Regions from separate parts of the Homo sapiens genome. Here region 2 is linked to region 1. Evidence: promoter capture Hi-C in 16 types of primary human blood cells and fetal thymus (Javierre and others, 2016). All regions are on one chromosome and are shown on one strand. The core of a region is centred on a gene start or on the middle of the fragment in contact, and the rest is flanking DNA. Distances in the headings are between cores, read along the strand shown. Region 1 holds the start of CXCR2 (C-X-C motif chemokine receptor 2). Region 2 overlaps PNKD (PNKD metallo-beta-lactamase domain containing).

Region 1 (4,069 bases), core at 571-3,070:
GAGTGTCTACCAGGTTCTAGCTTCTGGGCAAAGTGCTTTCCAGAATTTGTATCAATTAATCCTCAGGATAACCTCACGAAGCAGGCACTTTCTGGAAGAGGAAATGAAGACTCTGAGAGGTTAAGCAACATACCTAGAGTGACACAGCTGAACTAGGTTTTCAGTTTAAAAAACTTCTAAAAATCTGCTCTCAAATCCTATCTCCTGTTCACTGTAATAAGGAGCAGGATCCCAGCCTAAAGTTTCTGAGCTCCATTAGGTACCTCCCTGTGTCCCAGAAAGTCAGATACAAAGGATGTAGAGAGGGGAGCCCAGATTTGACATTTCCCAGTCAGCCTCCTTCTTCATGCTCCTTAGGTCAATTTCATTTCCATGGAGATCACTGCGGTTATATGCAGGGTGGAGTGAATTAAAAAACTGGCTTCTGGTGCGGTGGCTCATGCCTGTAATCCCAGCACTTTGGGAGGCTGAGGTGAGTGGATCACTCGAGGCCAGGAGTTACAGAACAGCCTGGCCAACATGGTGAAACCCCGCCTCTATTAAAAATGCAAAAATTAGCCAGGCGTGGCAGCGCACGCCTGTAATCCCAGCTACTCCAGAGGCTGAGGCATAAGAATTGCTTGAACTCGGGAGGCAGAAGTTGCAGTGAGCCGAGATTGTGCCATTGCATTCCAGCCTGGGCGACAGAGCAAAACCCTGTCTCAAACAAAAACAAAACAAAAACCTGGCTTCTAATCCTGCTTGGAGAAGTCATTCTTTCTGGGCCTTGTTGTGTGCCTTTGGAAAACGGGAGCTTCTTCTAATTCTATTCTGTTCAGCATGCTAGCTACTAGCCATGTGTAGCTATTTAAATTAAAATTAATTAAAATAAAGGCCAGGCAAGGTGGCCCATGCCTGTAATCCCAGCACTTTGGGAGGCCGAGGTGGGCGGATCGCTTGAGCCCAGGAGTTTGAGATCAGCCTGGGCAACATGACGAAACCCTGTCTTTACAAAAACAAAAACAAAACAAACAAACAAACAAAACCCAAAAAATTAGCTGAGTGTAGCGGCACATGCCTGTAGCTGCAGCTACTTGGGAGGCTGAGGTGGGAGAATCACCTAGACCTGTAGGTTGAGGTTGCAATGAGCCAAGATCATGCCACAGCACTCCAGCCTGGGCATTGGAGTGAGAGCCTGTCTCAAAAAAGAAAAAATAAAATAAAATAAAATGAAATAAAAATTGAGATCCGCAGTCACACTAGTCACATTTCAAGTGCTCCGTGGCCACGTGTGACTAGTGGCTACCATACTGGGCAGGGCAGGTCTAGGACATTTCTATTATTGCAGAAAATTCTTTTGTGCAACACTGTCTAGGTGAAGACTTAGTTGTCTTTAGCTCTAAGCTTCTACACTTCATCACCCCAGTTCTCAGGGGCCTCAGAGGAGGCTGAAGTTTCCAGATCTCTTCCATTAGAAATATGTTGCCAGCATCTCAGACTGAACAAGTCACCTACCTGCTGTTATTGGAGTGGCCACCGATGTCTTCACTGTGCCTCAAGGTTGGGTGGTAGTCAGAGCTGTTAGACAGGAAAAAAAAGATGAAACAACCTTGACGATGAAACTTCTGACCTGGGTTGCAAGGGGGAAATCCAGGATGCCCTCCTGGGGAGGTATTCCCACAGAGGAACAATGAGGTCTGTCCTGGGACTTTGGCCCAGGACAGGTGCCACTTAGTGATTCTGGGATGAGTGCTGGGGATTTTCACATCTTCCTGTCTGATGGCTTCTGGAGGAGCCTACCAGTCTGAAGGTGGAGATTTGTCTATCCACCTTCTGTCTCTGAATGTTTTGAACCTGCACTTCCTTTTTTAACAAGGAAGATGCAGGCATCCCAGCCCCCGCCAACGGACTTGTCTGAACTCGCACGCAGTTTCTTCCTTCTTTCCGGGGTCAGAGTGAGAAGCGTCCCTCCTTCTGTTTCTGTTGAATCCCCGCACCTGACTGTGGGACCCACTGCCTCTCTGGTCCTTGAGGATCCTGCTTTCTCTCCCCTCTGTCCTGGCTCTTTCCCTTCTACCACATCTTACTTATGGCTTTATCATGCTCCCTCTGTCCTAGCACCCTTCAGCCACCACAGCTGCTCTCTCCACTTCCTCACCTCCCCTCTGCTGCTCAACAAAGACACTGCAACTGGCTTCCTTCCTACTGCTCCACTGAAATAACTTTCGCCAAGGTTCCCAATGACCTCTGGGTTACTAAACCCAGCAAATCCATTAAAAAAAAAAACAAAAACAAATTGCTTTCTTTCCCCCCAAGACAACAGATTGGAGGCAGCATTAGCATGCCTCTCCCATCTGGAAGGACAGAATAGCGTGTAGAGATTCACACTATAATTTTTTTTTCTCCAGGAACGAATGCAGGAACTGAACAGGAAAGCTGAAAGAATCCACAGAACTTTTGAAAGAAGTGGCAGGCTGCAGCCTACTCTGTGAGACAGGCAAAAACTCACCTCTAGGCAGAATAGCACTGTACCCAGGAAGGAGAAAACGGCTGCATATTCTCAGCTATCACCACTGCTTACAACACCCTGGCTAACCAGAAGTCCTGCGTCTGTCCACGTGATAAGTTCACTATAATTATAACCAGCATTTGAGAAAGTCAATACTCTAAGTCTATCTACAACCAAGGAATCTTGCAGAGTTTGCATCACTCCCCTCCCACTTCTGTCAGAGATGGTGCTGGTATTCACTGCTGGGAGTCTTGAAGACAGGTAACACCACTGGATCCCTTGCAGACATTCCCTAGCACCAGCCCAGAGTCTGGTAGGCCCACTGGGTGGCTAGACCCAGAAGAGCACTGTAGTCTGGCTTCCAGGAAGTCCCATTCCTAGAGGAAGGGGAAGAACATCACATCAAGGGAATACCCTGTGGAACAAAAGAATCTGAATGGCAGGGCTTGAGTCCCAGATCTTTTCACTGGTGGGAAGTTTCCTATTGCAGAGACAATTGCTGTGCTGGGCAGAGTGGGGGAAAGTTTGCACCTCTACCCAATAGGCAGGCAGCCTCTGGTATTGTGAAGGGTCTTAGAGAAGGGATCCTTGTTCCCCCTGGTACGCCACTGCAGACAGAGCTGGGGCTTCTCCCAAAGGAACGCAGCATTGATGCACCTATAGACAGCCTTCCTGGAACAAATCAGGGTGATTGCATCCCCACGGGAGGAGCACTCCCCAGATTCAGGTTTGCATGACAGGCAGTCACAATTCCTCTCTACTTGGAACATCAACATTTCTACAGATGAAAATAACTGCCTGTCTGATCTGAATAGCTGGAACACTGGGAAAGGAGTGAAGCTGGGAGGTGGATAGCTTTCCAGCTGGCCTAGTGGGGGACCTGAGGTAGCTCCTACCCTTCACCCTGACAAAACCTCAGCACATCTAATTGAGAGCTCTCCCAGGCACTCTCATCAAGGCTGGGATCTCTGCCCACCTGCTTTAGCTACAACCGGTGCCTACCCACCTACTTTAGCTACATCTGGTGCCTACCCAGGGATACTTCCCCTACTGGTCCAAAGCCTGAATCAACTCAGTAAGTAAAATACTGGGGAAAAATTAAATAAATAAATAAAGAGTACCCCACGAGAGAATGAGGTAAGCTTAAAGAGATTCCTGCCATTCCAACCCTGTAGGAGACAGTAAACCTTCCCACACACCAAGTACGTAACTGCTACAACCAGGATCTGGGAAAGCCAGCACACAAGGACTGTCTCTAACTAACGAACTCATACAGAGTCTTCACTCCTAAAATCCAAAAGTCTTCACTCCTAAAAACCAAGGATCAAATTAGGCTAAAATAAACTATAAATATTAAAGTCAGATCCTTAAGAGGGAAGAAAAAGAAATAAAAAAAAAACATAGTTGCTGGGCGTGGTGGCTCACGCCTGTAATCCCAGCATTTTGGGAAGCTGAGGCTGGCAGATCACCTAAGGTCAGGAGTTCAAGACCAGATTGACCAACATGGAGAAATCCTGTCTCTACTAAAAATACAAAATTAGCCGGGTGTGCTGGTACATGCCTGTAATCCCAGCTACTCGG
Region 2 (4,069 bases), core at 859-3,358, 170 kb before region 1:
CGCCTCCCGGGTTCATGCCATTCTCCTGCCTCAGCCTCCTGAGTAGCTGGGACCACAGGCGCCTGCCATCACGTCCAGCTAATTTTTCTATTTTTAGTAGAGACGGGGTTTCACTATGTTAGCCAGGATGGTCTCGATCTCCTGACCTTGTGATCTGCCCGCCTCGGCCTCTCAAAGTGCTGGGATTACAAGCGTGAGCCACTGTGATTTCTTTTCTTCTCTCTTTTTTTTTTTTTTTTTTTTTTTGAGACGGAGTCTTTTTCTGTTGCCCAGGCTGGAGAGCAGTGGCATGATCTCGGCTCACTGCAACCTCTGTCTCCCAGGTTCAAGCGATTCTCCTGCCTCAGCCTCCGGTGTAGCTGGGACTACAGGCATGCGCCACCACACTTGGCTAATTGTTTGTATTTTTAGTAGAGATGGGGTTTCACTATATGTTAGCCAGGCCGGTCTCTAACTCCTGACCTCAGGTGATCCACCCCCTGACCTCCCACAGTGCTGGGATTACAGGCATGAACCACTGTGACCAGCCACAGTGTGATTTCTAAGTAGAGAGATGGGCCCCCGGCCTCACAGTCCTTTAGTGCCAAAGCTGGAACAAAACTTCACTTCTGAGACATCCAAATCCACCATTCTTTCCACTCTCTATTTCCTTAGGAAAGTGTTAAATAATGTTTATGAATAATAAGGCCAATTTTAAGGGGGAGGAGCCCCCATACCCCACCCCTACCTTATCTATCCCCCACACATCTATCATTCAAGCCTGAGAGGCTCCCTCCATCCCACTTTGGAACATTGGCATTCAATTCAACAGATGCTGGGTCAGGGCCGTGCCCAGGCCTAGGGGTGAATGAGACATTGTCTCTGCCCTCCAGTGGGGAGAAACAGGCACTTTCACCTCAGGCTGGGTTCAATGCCTCAATTCAGTAAATACGTCCTCTGAAAACAAGCAACTTCGGGCGGCGCGGTAGCTCTTGCCTGTAATCCCAGCACTTTGGGAGGCCAAGGCAGGTGGATGACCTGAGGCCAGGAGTTCAAGACCAGCCTGGCCAACGTGGCAAAACCCTGTTTCTACTAAAAATACAAAAATTAGCTGGGCATTGTGGTGGGCGCCTGTAATCTCAGCTACTCAGGAGGCCAAGCAGGAGAATCGCTTGAACCCAGGAGGCGGAGGTTGCAGGGAGCCGAGATCATGCTACTGCACCCCAGCCGTGGTGACAGAGTGAGACTCCATCTCAAAAAGAAAGAAAGAAAGAAAGAAAAAGAAAAACAGAAAAAAGGCAACTTCTTTCAGAAAGTTAGTGATCAATGCATGGGTAGAGTAACACATTAAATGCTAGGTAACCAGGCAGCTATGAGAAGGGTTTGGAGGACCAATTAGTGGAGTCCTGGGGCTGGGCTGGAGGGTGGCAACAGAGAAAGTTCTCTGGATCCACCGCTCCAATTAAGTTTTTCCTGCCCATGTCCTTCAGGTTCCACCTGGGCCCACCCCTTCCAGGCTGCCACCACCCCCTCCCACCAATCACTAAGCTTTAGCTAGTCCTAAAATACCTAAAATAACATCCAGTCCTAAAATAAACATCAGTCTAATCCCTTTCACTCCTCCACCCCTCTTCCTGCAGCCATGGACTTGACTCCACTTTCCTCCTAGGTAGTGTTGCTGGAAAAATACAACCAACCAGTTAAATGTGAATTTCAGATAAGCAATGAGTACTTTTTTTTAGTACAAGTATTTCCAAATATTATATGGGGCAGTGGGATATGCTTATATGAAAAAATATTGTTTGGCCGGGCGCAGCGGCTCATGCCTGTAGTCCCAGCACTTTGGGAGGGTGAGGCGGATGGATTGCTTGAGCTCATGAGTTCAAGACCAGCCTGGGCAACATGGCAAAACCCTGTCTCCACAGAAAATACAAAAATTAGCCGGGCGTGGTGGTGCTCATGTCTGTAGTCCCAGCTACTTGAGAGGCTGAGGTGGGAGGATGGCTTGAGCCTGGGAGGTGGAGGTTGCCGCGAGCCAAGATCGCACTACTGTACTCCAGCCTGGGAGTGCAGAGCCAGACCTTGTCTTGAAAAAAAAAAAAAAAAAGGTTTGTTGTTTATCTGAAGCTCAAACTGGTTGCCTTGCATCTTTATTTGCTAAAGCTGGAACCCTACCCCAGGGGCACCACCAGAGCCTCCCCAACCCTCCCAAACTCCCTCTAGGTGGTTATTTTCTGGCTCCCCATTGCTTTCAGGGTAAAATCTCAATTTCTGGCCCCCTGCCTCCTTGGCCAGCCCTATTTCCTACCCCTTCTACCCCACTGCACCCTCCACCCCCCATCCTAGCTTGCTGGGGCAACTGGCCCTAAGTCCCTTGCCCTCTGCCTGGAGAACCTTCTCCCCTCCTCCGAATAGGCTGGTTCCTAACACCTCCTAACACTCTACTCAGGTGTCACCTCCTCTGAACTCCTTTCCCGAACCCCCACCCCATTCCCCACACTGGGTTAGGAGCTTTCTCTGGGATCTGGAGGAACCAAGTGAATATTTCTTTATCTGCCAGCACTTGTCAAACTGTCAACATTGTAATAATCTGTCATTTTACTGGCTCCCTTAGACTGTGAGTTTCTTGAGAGCAGGGGCTGTGTTCTTTCAGCCTTCTCATTTCTAGAACCGGAAATTCCTGTCTGGTTGGCAGACAATAAAAGCTTACTTAATAATTTTGCAGATAAGGCCCAAGAGAAAAAAACATCATTTATCGAATGCCTATTGCCAGCGAAGCACTGCTGCTCTGGGCCAGGCGCTTCAGGTGTTATTTTTGACCCTATAGTCAGAAAAAGGGCTCTGGAGAAAAAGCACGCAGCAAGGCTTGTGTGGGCTTGCCTCGTGTGCCCCATGTCCCACTCCCCCAGTCGGGCAGATGTGAGTCGCTGGTGATTGCTGGTTGGAAATGGAATCTCCTTGGATATTAACCATCCTGGTGGTTCTAGAAAGTGGAGGGTGTTTTCTGGAGAAGGGGCCTGCTATGGTGGGAATGTTGTTGTCCCCACTCCATTCATTTGTTGAAACTTAATCCTCAATGTTATAGTATTAAAAGGTGAGGCCTTTAGGAAGTGATTAGGTCATGAAGGCGGAACCCTCTGGAATGGAATTCATGCTCTTAGAAAAGAAGCTGGTGGCCAGGTGCAGTGGCTCACGCCTATAATCCCAGCACTTTGGGAGGTGGAGGAGGGCAAATTGCTTGAGCCCAGGAGTTCAAGACCAGCGTGGGCAACATAGTGAGACCCTGTCTCTACAAAAAATACAAAAATTAGCCAGGTGTGGTGGTGCATGTGTGTAGTCCCAGCTACTCAGGAGGCTGAGTTGGAAGGATTGCTTGTACATGGGAGGTCAAGGCTGCAGTGAGCTGCAATTGTGCCATTGCACAGAGTGAGATTCCATCTCAAAAAAAAGGAAGGCTGGTGGGGGGGCGGTGTCTGTTTGTTCCTTCCTTGGCCATATGAGGACTCAGACGATATCTGTGAAGCAGAGGGAGCCTTCATCAGACACCTAACCTGCTGGTGCCTTGATGTTGCGTTTCCCACCCTCCAGAACTGTGAGCAATACATTTCTGCTGTTTCTAAATTACCCACTCTAAGGTATTTTTGTTGTAGCAGCCCAGATGGACTAAGACAGCACAAGTGTAGAGAGCATGAAAAAATGTCAGGGATCTGGACAGATTCCATGGGCCATGCATTTCACCTAGGGCGCTACTCCTTGAGCAAGGGGGAGACAGACACTGAGCAGAACTGTACTTGCTCTGGTGAGATCACACCTTGGGTGGGGACTTCCTAAAATGAGGTTCTTGGCCTGTAGGAACTGGAAGTACACTGAAGGGTTGGGGTGTCTGGGGAGCTAGCCCACCATAACGGCCACTAGTCCCCCTAAGTAACTCCTACTTAAACTATATTTACAGAAATAAACATACATAGTGTGTGTATGGGGGGCAGTTTTTAAAAATCTGTCTTTTTTTTTTTTTTTTTTTTTTAAATCTCTGTTTTGGGGCTGGACGTGGTGGCTCATGTCTGTAATCCTAGCACTTTGGGAGGCCAAA

The links. Contacts are between HindIII fragments. The CHiCAGO score rates a contact against its expected background, and 5 or more counts as called.
Region 2: a fragment that was not itself captured here is called in contact with the fragment with the promoter of CXCR2 in region 1 in 1 of 17 cell types (neutrophils); the score reaches 7.0 in neutrophils.

Annotation. Positions count from the first base shown.
Region 1 is chr2:218,123,779-218,127,847 of GRCh38, reverse strand. CXCR2 (C-X-C motif chemokine receptor 2) reads right to left here and starts at 1,820. Exons shown (of 3, transcript NM_001557.4): 1 at 1,495-1,820. The HindIII fragment of the contact is 2,247 bases long and covers 1,386-3,632 here.
Region 2 is chr2:218,293,862-218,297,930 of GRCh38, reverse strand. The region is part of intron 2 of PNKD (PNKD metallo-beta-lactamase domain containing); the gene reads right to left. Among named protein-coding and RNA genes, the nearest start is that of TMBIM1, 3.4 kb to the right of the region's middle. RefSeq lists an enhancer at 3,904-4,069. The HindIII fragment of the contact is 1,157 bases long and covers 1,530-2,686 here.